Regions from separate parts of the Homo sapiens genome. Here region 1 is linked to region 2. The links are contacts of gene promoters, found by promoter capture Hi-C in human tissues and cell types (Jung and others, 2019). All regions are on one chromosome and are shown on one strand. Each heading gives the region's core, a stretch centred on a gene start or on the middle of the fragment in contact. The rest is flanking DNA. Distances are from core to core; before and after follow the strand shown. Region 1 has its middle 12 kb from the start of PPIAP59. Region 2 holds the start of KLK7 (kallikrein related peptidase 7).

Region 1 (5,884 bases), core at 2,422-4,921, 45 kb after region 2:
ACGCCACTGCACTCCAGCCTGGCGACAGTAAGATGCCAGCTCAAAAAAACAAAAGAGAGAGAGAGATAAACTTGTATGTGCCATAGTAATTATGTAAGTGACATGAACACAATGAGAGCAGGGCATAAGGCAAGAGAGGAAATGTCGTGAGTTGGTGGGGGGGGTCTCTACATTGGATGATCAAGGAGGGCATGGGAGGCAGCATAATGCCTCCCTCCCACCTCGAAACGCCATCTTAATTTCTGGAGCCTGTGAATATGTTACCTTCTATAGCAAGGGGGCTTTGCTGATGTGATTAAGGGTCTTGAGATGGGGAGATGATCCTGGATTATCTGGGTGGACCCAATATAATCAGAAGGGTCCTTATAAGAGGGAGGCGGAAAGATCAGAATGAGAGACTGGAAGATGCTATGCTGCTGGCTTTGAAGACAGAGGAAGATGAGCATGGTGGCTCACGCCTGTAATCCCAGCACTTTGGGAGGCCAAGGCAGGGGCATGGCTTGAGGCCAAGAGTTCAAGACCAGCCTGGGCAACATAGGGAGACCCCATCTCTAAAAAAAAAAAAAATGTTTTTTAATTTGCCAGGTGTAGTGGTGTGTGCCTACAGTCCCAGCTACTCGGGAGACTGAAGTAGGAGGATCACTGCACTCCAGCCTGAGCAACAGAACAAGACCCAATCTCTAACAATAGTAATAATAATAATAATAATAATAATAATAATGATGATGATGATGAAGGTGAAGGAAGGGGCATGAGCCAAGGAATATGGGCAACCTCTGGAAGGCAGGAGGACATGGGAATGGACCCTCCCCTAGAGCCTCCAGAAGGAACCAGCCCTGCCGACCACCTTGATTTCTGCCCAGTGAGATCTTTAGGACTTCTGACCTCCCAAACTACAATAGAATAAATCTGTGTTGTTTTAAGCAACTAGACTCTCAGTGATTTGTTACAGTAGCCACTGTAACAAACACAAAGGGCCTCGCCGAGGAGGTACCATTTGAGACTGAGAGGATAGAGTGGCCAGCCCCAGGCAGGGCGCAGTGGCTCATGCCTATAACCCCAGCACTTTGGGAGGCTGAGGTAGGTGGTTACTTGAGGTCAGGAGTTCAAGACCAGCCTGGCCAACATGGTGAAACCCTGTCTCTACTAAAAATACAAAAACTAGCTGGGCGTGGTGTTGCACACCTGTAATCCCAGCTACTTGGGAGGCTGAGGCAGGAGAATCACTGGAACCTGGGAGGCAGAAGTTGCAGTGAGCCGAGATTGCGCCACTGCACTTCAGCCTGGGTGATGGAAGGAGACTCCATCTCAAAAAAAAAAAAAAAAAGAAAGAAAGTGGCCAGCCCCATGAACATCTGGGGCACTGATGTTCCAGACAGAGAGGAGGTCAAGTGCCAAGTGCTGAGATTGGAGCATGCTGGACATTCTCCAGGAGCTGAAAGAAGACCCATAGAGCTGGACACTTGTTTGTTTTCTCTGAGAATTTGGGAAGTCATTGGAGGTTTTCCAGCCGGATCTGGTTCATGCACAAAGGAGAACATTCTGGCTCTTTGTGGAGAACAAACTGGAGCTGCTTGTTGGCCAGGGTAGAAACGGGAGGTAGGTTATTGTATTAGTCCATTCTCAAGTTGCTGCAAAGATACTACCTAAGACTGGGTAATTTATAAAGGAAAGAGGTTTGATTGACTCATAGTTCAGCATGGCTGGGGAGGCCTCAGAAAACTTACGATCATGGTAGAAGGGGAACCAAACATGTCCTTCTTCACAGGGTGGCCGAAAGGAGAAGGGCAAACTGAAGGGGGAAAATTATAAAACCATCAGATCTTGTGAGAACTCACTACTATCACAAGAATAGCATGGGGGGACTGTCCCCATGATCTAATCACCTCCCATGAGATCCCACCCCCAACACGTGGGGATTATGATTCAAATTAAAATCCAAGATGAGATTTGGGTGGGGACACAGGGCCAGGCCATATCAGTTATCAAAAGAATATCCATTAATTTAAATTGGAAAATGTCAGGGCAGAAGCAGCTGCCTGTGGGATCTCTATCCCTTCTCCCCTAGGTATGTGTCTTTCACGGTCTCTTTCTTCTCATCCCACCTCTGTTTTCTCATTACATTGACTGCCTGTTGCCTATCAAAGCATCTCTTCTCTCCCCCATAACTGGCTCCAGTTACTGGGTTTTCTTTGTTCATAGCCCCTAGAGAAAAAATCTGGTTGGCTGTCCTAGGGTCAGATGCAGACTCTATCTCTAGTCTGAAAGGTGGGCCCACAGAGTGCAACATGGATCCCCCAGCCACCCCTTCATCCATAGCAGTGGGCAGGGCAGGGCCCCTAAGAAGGTTGTGGGCGTGGTAGTCATTGAAATGGACAACACATCAACACATGGACATTCTAGTCTTCAGCACTTTCTGAGTGACCTGTGTAAAGGTCATTTGTACTTTTTCTGGACCTCAGTTTCTCTACCTGTAAAATGGGAGGATTGAAACGTAATGATCTCCACGTGCCAATCCAGCTCTAAGATTTCTCAAGATACTCACAGGTGGTTATAGAAAGTCACTCCAGGGAATACTTTGGAAATTGAACACTCTAGAAAAGGAATTACACTAGAAAATTTTGTCAGTAACAAAATACCCAACTCAAAGTGGGTTAAGCAATAAGGACGTGTATTATTTCACATAATAAGAAGCCCCAAAAGAGGGAAGTACTGTGGTTTGGTGATTCCTACATTACATCATTAGGGACCCATCTTTCTTCTCTACTGCCCTCTGCATTCATTCATTCATATATTTATTCAACTCATGAGCACCTATGAGAGCCAAGTAATATTATAGACACTTGGGATAGACTGATTAATAAAACAGACACCAAACCCCTGCCTTCCTTAAGCTTATGTTCTAGCAGGAAGAAGAAAATATGTCAGCTTTCTCCTTTAGGCTTGTAATCTCGTGGCTGTAAAATGGCTGCCACAGCTCCAGACATCACATCCTCACGCACCATGACAAAAGGCAGGAAGGAGAGACTCTGTTGGCAGAGCTCTCTTCATTAGGAAAGAAAGTCTTTTCCAGAGTCCCCCCACACCCCTGGATCTGTTCTTGGGTCTCAATGACCACTCATTGGAGAAGGTCCCAATGCTGACACTCTAGCTTCAAGAGAAGCTGAGAAAGTGAGTTTCTGACATTTCTCTGTCACGGGTGCAGTCCTTACCAGCAAGGAAGAAGAGATAAGAAGTGTCTGCCTGATGAACAGTCAAAGGTGTGAGAGAAGGACACATACATCAAAATGATCCAATAATTGTCACCTTTATCTTCCCCTTTGTGCCTAGCCATTTACAAGTCCTCACGACTTTTTAGGGGACATTCCAGAAAGACTGGGCTGCCAGGGTGTGTGGTGTGGTGTGAAAATAGGGGCAAATAGTACTGGGTGACAGTTGTAATTCAATGTTTGTTTTTTGTTTTTGTTTTTCTTTAGACAGAGTCTCACTCTGTCACCCAGGCTGGAGTGCAGTAGCGTATTCTCGGCTCACTGCAACTTCCACCTCCCCAGTTCAAGCAATCCCCATGCCTCAGCCTCCTGAGTAGCTGGGACTATAGGTGTGAGCCACCATGCCTGGCTAATTTTTGTATTTTTAGTAGAGACAGGGTTTCGCTATGTTGGCCACACTGGTCTCGAACTCCTGACCTCAGGTGATCTGCCTACCTCAGCCTCCCAAAGTGCTGGGATTACAGGCGTGAGCCATCTGGCCTCAATTTTTTTTTTCTTAATCTTAAAAAAATCTAGATAGGAGCAGAATCCTAGCTAAGGGGCAGTCTTGAGCACATTTTCCAAAATGATGTTTCCGGTTAAGCTGCTTTGAGGAACAAGAGAAGATTCATGCTGGCTTCAATAGTAAATAAGTTTTAATTTCACATATCAAGAAATCCAGGTAAGGGCAGCTCCAGACACAGGGCGTCAGGCTGTGTTTCGCTTGGTTCTCCTCGGCGGGGGGTCATCATCCTTAAGATCAACACCCGTAGTGGGTCTGTCTTTGAGAAGGATGATGCTTTTCCAGAAACCACCCCAGCAGAATTTTATCTTATTCTTACTGGCCAGAATTGGGTCACATGTCCTTTCCTAAACCAGTCACAGACTGGTGGGGTGGGGTGGGGAGTGGGGTGGAGAGGTTAACATGGTTGATTTGAACCAAACAGGATTATTCTTTCACGATGGAGTGGAGGACCTCCCCTAAAGCATGTAGAAGCTGCTCCTTGAGAGAAATCAGGATTCCGACATCAAAGAACGGGAGGAACAACCAATGATGTCTGCCCCATAGATGCCCTTGCAGCAATATTTTAAATTAACTTTTATTGAAAGATAATGCACAGGGCCGGGCATGGTGGCTCACACCTGTAATCCCAGCACTTTGGGAGGCCGAGGCGGGTGGATTACCTGAGGTCAGGAGTTCGAAACCAGCATGGCCAATGTGGCGAAACCCTGTCTCTACTAAAAATACAAAAATTAGCCGGGCTCGGTGGTGGGCACCTGTAATCCCAGCTACTCGGGAGGCTGAGGCAAGAGAATCGCTTGAACCTGGGAGGTGGAGATTGCAGTGAGCCAAGATCACGCCATTGCACTCCAGCCTAGATGACAGAATGAGACTGTCTCAAGAAACAAAAAAAGAAAGAAAGAAAGAAAGAAAGAAAGAAAGAAAGAAAGAAAGAAAGAAAGAAAGAAAGGAGAAAGAAAGAAACATGCACAGAAGTATCATAAATGGCAGTGAAGTTTCACAAAACAGAACACACCCTTGTAACCAGCATTCAGACAGAGCCACGGAACCTAAGCATCTCCTCAGAAAAACCAGTGGGGTCTTCCTTGCAGTCACTACCTCCCCTGCCAAATGTAGCCGCTTCCATTACTACCTAAATCCCTCGCCTGCAAGGGTAGCGACTTTCATGACTTCTCCCCAAGTGTAGCAACTTTTGTGACTTCTATCACCATAAATTAATTTGTCCCATTTATGAACAACATATAAATATAAATTTATTTACATAGACATATAGAAGTATAATAAGTTTATATAAATAAATCATTTGGGAGGCTGAGCCGAGTGGATCACGAGGTCAAGAGATCGAGACCATCCTGGCCAGCATGGTGAAACCCCGTCTCTACTAAAAATACAAAAATTAGCCGGACATGGAGGCATGCACCTGTAATCCCAGCTACTTGGGAGGCTGAGGCAGGAGAATTGCTTGAACCTGGGAGGCAGAGGTTGCAGTGAGCTGAGATCGTGCCACTGCTCTCCAGCCTGGTGACAGAGTGAGACTTTGTCTAAAAAAACAAAAAAACAAACAAACAAAAAAAGCAATGAGTGTCTTATATTATTTTGTGTTGGGCTTTTTTTTTTCTCAGTATTATATATTGTGTGGTCCGCCCAGGTTTTTGTTTATGGTTGTAAATGTTTTATTCTCATCGTTGCACAGTATACCATTGTGTAAATGTACTCCGATTTATTGAGCCATTTTTTTACTATGAGGAGACATTTGGATAGTTTCTAGTTTCTTTAACAGTTGTAAAGGTAATACACTTGTGGAACAATTGCTACAACCGTGATGAAAAGAAGAGAGGCCGGGCATGGTGGCTCACACCTGTAATCCCAACTACTTCAGAGGCTGAGGCAGGAGGATTGCTTGAGCCCAGGAGTTCGAGACCAGCCTGGGCAACAAAGCCAGACCCTGTCTCAAGAAAAATAAACCAAGAGTTTAGGAGAAACAGTGTGCTTGGTTCTCTGCCCACCAAAGATGCAAGCACTATCCCCACGCTGATTGTTGCTAATGGCAGAGCCTGGATGCATTTTCCCATCAAGTTCAGGCTCAAGGGCAAACAGGCGAACAGAGGGGAGA
Region 2 (5,271 bases), core at 1,875-4,374:
CCATCTCTACTAAAAAAAAAAAAAAAAAAAATTAGCCAAGTGTGATGGTACATGCCTGTAATCCCAGCTACTCGGGAGGCTGAGTCAGGAGAATTGCTTGAACCTGGAAGGCGGAGATTGCAGTGAGCTGAGATCGCACCACTGCACTCCAGCCTGGGCAATAAGATCAAAACTCCATCTCAAAAACAAAAACAAAACAAAACAAAGCAAAAAAAAGAATTGAGTTGGGGTCAGGATTGAGATAAGTTTTAGGTCCAGGGTGGAGAAATAAATCCCATTTTGGGGATATAATTTAGAGGTTGAGGTCAATTCCAACTTTAGAAGTGTGTCCAACAATGGTTCCTGTCTTACTCAAAATAAAAGCCAAAGACCTTTCAGACCGCATGTCATCAGAGTCCTGTTATATTTCTGGCCTCATCACCTGCCCTCATCTCCTTTGGTCACTCTGTATTGGTCGCAGTGATTTGTCTGCTGAGGCACTTCAGATATGCTCCTTGGCTAACACACCTGCCTGCTCGCTTTGCCTGGAACTCACTACCTTCAAGCAGCCACCTGGATCCCTCCACCATCTCCTTCAAGACTTTGCTCAAATATCACCTTCACGTGGGGTCTTTGCAGCCAACCTTCCTGATATTATAACCTCAGGGATCCTCGAGGGTAGAGGGAATCAGTAACTCCCCAACCCTCTTCCTTGCTTGGATTTTCCCTTATAGCGCTTACAACCACCTAACAAACTCTACATTTTATTTGCTTATTTTTGTGCTGACCTGACAGTACAAAACAAAAACCTCTATGAAGACAGAAATTTTTCTCTGTTTTATCACTGCTGTGTCTCCAAGAGCCTGAATAGTTTCTGGCACAGAGTAGATGCTCAATGGATGCTGTTTGAATGACTACAATGAACAAAGATGAATGTACAAAGAAGTTCATCTCAGCATTATTATAATTAAAACTATCCAAGTGTATTTCAATTTGAGGCAGATGACATGCATCATGATACAAGTATAGTATGGAATATTACACAACCATTATAAAGGAAGGAAAAGTAATCTAAATGTACAAAGAGGGAAAAGTTTTCCTCTTTTTAAAAAATAAATGTTATTGTGTATATTTAAAGTGTACAATATGATCATATGCGATGTATATACATAGGACAATGATTACTATAGCTGAACAAATGAACATGTCCATCATCTCACATAGTTACCCATTTTCCTCCCCTGTGGCAAGAGCAGCTATAATCTACTCATTTAGCAAAAATCCTTGGCTGGGCGCGGTGGCTCAGGCCTATAATCGCAGTACTTTGGGAGGCCGAGGCCGGTGGATCACCTGAGGTCAGGAGTTGGAGAGCAGCCTGACCAACATGGTGAAACCCCATCTCTACTAAAAATACAAAAATTAGTTGGGCATGGTGGTGCACGCCTGTAATCCAGCTACTCAGGACTCTGAGGCAGGAGAATCACTTGAACACGGGGGAGTGGAGGTTGCAGTGAGCCGAGATCGTGCCATTGCACTCCAGCCTGGGTGACAGAGCCAGAGTCCATCAAAAAAAAAAAAAAATAAGAAAGATTCTTCTCTCCTCTATGTGTCCATGCAGTCTCATCATTTAGCTACCACTTGTAAGTAGGAACATGCCATATCTGGTTTTCTGTTCCTGCTTTAGTTTGTAAGGGTAATGGCCTCCAGCTCCATTCACGTCCCTACAAAGGACATGATCGTGTTCTTTTTTATGGCTACGTAGTATTCAATTGTGTATACGTACCACATTTTCTTAATCCAGTCTATCACTGATGGACATTTAGGTTGATTCCCTGTGTTTGCTGTTGTCAATAGTTCTACAATGAACGTACGTGTCCATGTGTCTTTAAACAGAATGATTTATATTCCTTTGGGTACACACACTGGGGCTTATGAGAGGGTGGAGAGTGGGAGGAAGGAGAGGATCAGAAAAAAATAACTAATGGGTACTAGGCTTAATACCTGGGTGATTAAATAATCTGTATAACAAACCCCCATGGCGCACGTTCACCTACGCAACAAACCTGCACATCCTGCACATGTACCCCCGAACTGAAAAGTTAAAAAAAGAAAAATAAATATTTGCTTATAAATTAATAAATGAAGCCCTCAAAAATGTTCTATTAGATAATGTTAAGTACAGACATTTTTGTTATAAATACATAATATACAAAGAAATCTATGTATAACATGATTAAAATGACCATAAGAACATAGATCCTAAACATGGCAAATATTAGTGGGGTGGGGTTAGGGAAAGCGTTGTTTTTAACTTACACCTCTCTGTTAGAGTTGGGAATGGGTTCAGGCGTAATTACAGGCACGACTGGGATCAGCTTGGACAAGTTCCCCCAGGCGGGCCAGAATTAGGATGTAGGGTCTAGGCCACCCCTGAGAGGGGGTGAGGGCAAGAAAATGGCCCCAGAAGCCGGGCGCAGTGGCTCACGCCTGTAATCCCAGCACTTTGCGGGGCCGAGGCGGGCACATCATGAGGTCAGGAGATCGAGACCATTCTGGCCAACATAGTGAAACCCGGTCTCTACTAAAAATACAAAAATTAGCTGGGAGTGGTGGTGCGTGCCTGTAATCCCAGGTACTCGGGAGGCTGAGGCAGGAGAATCACTTGAACCTGGGAGGCGGAGCTGGCAGTGAGCCGAGATCGCGCCACCGCACTCCAGCCTGGCGATAGAGAGAGACTCCATCCAAAAAAAAGAAAGGAAGGGAGGGAGGGAGGAGGGAAGAAAGAAAGAAAACCGCCCCAGAGAAGGACCCGAGCCAGAGCCTATTCTCTGAGCTCAGCGACTGCTTGAATCCCGCTCCTGCCCCTCAGACCCAGCGCACCGGGTCCCTCCCCCGAGAGCAGCCAGGAGGGACTGTGGGACCAGAATGTGCGGGGGCGCAGGAGCTGGGCACCGCCCGTCCTTCGGAGGGAGGGTGGAGAGAGAGTGCAGTGGTGCCAATTGCTCTCGCTGCGTCAGGGTTCCAGATAACCAGAACCGCAAATGCAGGCGGGGGTGTCCCAGAGTCGGCTCCGCCTGCACCCCAGGGCGCTGGGGCCGGGCATGGGGCGGGGGGTGATATAAGAGGACGGCCCAGCAGAGGGATGAAGATTTTGGAGCCCAGCTGTGTGCCAGCCCAAGTCGGAACTTGGATCACATCAGATCCTCTCGAGGTGAGAAGAGGCTTCATCAAGGGTGCACCTGTAGGGGAGAGGGTGATGCTGGCTCCAAGCCTGACTCTGCTCTCGAGAGGTAGGGGCTGCAGCCTAGACTCCCGGTCCTGAGCAGTGAGGGCCTGGAAGTCTGCAATTTGGGGCCTTTTAGGGAAAAACGAACTACAGAGTCAGAAGTTTGGGTTCCACAGGGAAGGGCAAGATCGGAGCCTAGATTCCTGGGTCTCTAGGGATCTGAAGAACAGGAATTTTGGGTCTGAGGGAGGAGGGGCTGGGGTTCTGGACTCCTGGGTCTGAGGGAGGAGGGCCTGGGGGCCTGGACTCCTGGGTCTGAGGGAGGAGGGGCTGGGGGTCTCGACTCCTGGGTCTGAGGGAGGAGGGGCTGGGGGCCTGGACTCCTGGGTCTGAGGGAGGAGGGGCTGGGACCTGGACTCCTAGGTCTGAGGGAGGAGGAGCTGGGGCCTGGACTCCTGGGTCTGAGGGAGGAGGGGCTGGGGCCTGGACTCCTGGGTCTGAGGGAGGAGGGGCTGGGGCCTGGACTCCTGGGTCTGAGGGAGGAGGGGCTGGGGCCTGGACTCCTGGGTCTGAGGGAGGAGGGGCTGGGGCCTGGACTCCTGGGTCTGAGGGAGGAGGGGCTGGGGCCTGGACTCCTGGGCCTGAGGGAGGAGGGACTGAGACCTGGACTCCTAGGTCTGAGGGAGGAGGGACTGGGACCTGGACTCCTGGGTCTGAGGGAGGAGGAGCTGGGGGCCTGGACTCCTGGGTCTGAGGGAGGAGGGGCTGGGGCCTGGACTCCTGGGTCTGAGGGAGGAGGGGTTGGGGCCTGGACTCCTGAGCCTGAGGGAGGAGGGACTTGGACCTGGACTCCTAGGTCTGAGGGAGGAGGAGCTGGGGGCCTGGACTCCTAGGTCTGAGGGAGGCGGGGCTGGGGGCCTGGACTCCTGGGTCTGAGGGAGGAGGGGTTGGGGCCTGGACTCCTGAGCCTGAGGGAGGAGGGACTTGGACCTGGACTCCTAGGTCTGAGGGAGGAGGAGCTGGGGGCCTGGACTCCTAGGTCTGAGGGAGGAGGGGCTGGGGGCCTGGACTCCTGGGTCTGAGGGAGGAAGGTGCTAGGGTCTGGACTCTTGGGTATGAGGGAGGAGGAGGTTAGGGGTCTGGACTTCTGAGTGTAAGGAAGGAGAGGCCAGAGAAAGGAATTTCTGGGTCTGAGGGAGGAGGGGCTGGGGTTCTGGACCCCTAGGTCTGAGGGAGGAGGGGCTGGGGCCTGGACCCCTGGGTCTGAGGGAGGAGGGGCTGGGGCCTGGACTCCTGGGTCTGTGGGGGGAGGGGCTGGGGCCTGGACCCCTGGGTCTGAGTGGGGAGGGGCTGGGCCTGAATGCTTTCTCCTTCTCAGCTCCAGCAGGAGAGGCCCTTCCTCGCCTGGCAGCCCCTGAGCGGCTCAGCAGGGCACCATGGCAAGATCCCTTCTCCTGCCCCTGCAGATCTTACTGCTATCCTTAGCCTTGGAAACTGCAGGAGAAGAAGGTGAAAGCTGGACTGGGAAGTCTGACCTCACCTCAGGGCCCCCACTGACCCTCTCCAAGGAGTCCCTGAGTCAGAACCCTTCCCTCCTCAAACAGCTTCCATCCTGGGAGGACCAGACTGTCGGCTGAAGCCCCCGCTCTTCCTGCTTCTGCTGACTCAGGGGGTCTCTGTCCCCTCCAGGCCCTGCCTCCTGTGCTCAGGGTCTCTCTGTGGTTCCCCAGATGAGATGCGCCTCCTGGGTTTCTGAGTGGGCTCCTTCTGTCTGTCTCTATCCCTATCTCTTGCTTTCTCTGTATTTCTCCACACATTTTCATCTGTCTCTGTCCATCTCTGACTCTGGGAATCCCTGAGGTGCAGCCTCAGCCTTCCCCTAATGCTAGCTACCCACGTGCTCCTCCATGTCTCCATCCAGCCCAGGGTGACAAGATTATTGATGGCGCCCCATGTGCAAGAGGCTCCCACCCATGGCAGGTGGCCCTGCTCAGTGGCAATCAGCTCCACTGCGGAGGCGTCCTGGTCAATGAGCGCTGGGTGCTCACTGCCGCCCACTGCAAGAT

The links. The method cuts DNA at HindIII sites, captures the fragments that hold promoters and counts their contacts. A contact is called where the count stands out against the background at its distance.
Region 1: a fragment that was not itself captured here is called in contact with the fragment with the promoter of KLK7 in region 2 in 5 of the 25 tissues and cell types used here (lymphoblastoid cells, neural progenitor cells, pancreas and 2 more).

What each region holds. Positions count from the first base shown.
Region 1 is chr19:50,936,606-50,942,489 of GRCh38, reverse strand. No RefSeq gene overlaps it. Among named protein-coding and RNA genes, the nearest start is that of PPIAP59, 12 kb to the right of the region's middle. RefSeq lists a silencer at 3,289-3,452. The HindIII fragment of the contact is 8,084 bases long and covers 1-5,884 here.
Region 2 is chr19:50,981,770-50,987,040 of GRCh38, reverse strand. KLK7 (kallikrein related peptidase 7) reads left to right here and starts at 3,124. Exons shown (of 6, transcript NM_005046.4): 1 at 3,124-3,190; 2 at 4,584-4,714; 3 at 5,127-5,271. The coding sequence starts at 4,642. RefSeq lists an enhancer at 2,835-3,389. The HindIII fragment of the contact is 14,004 bases long and covers 2,939-5,271 here.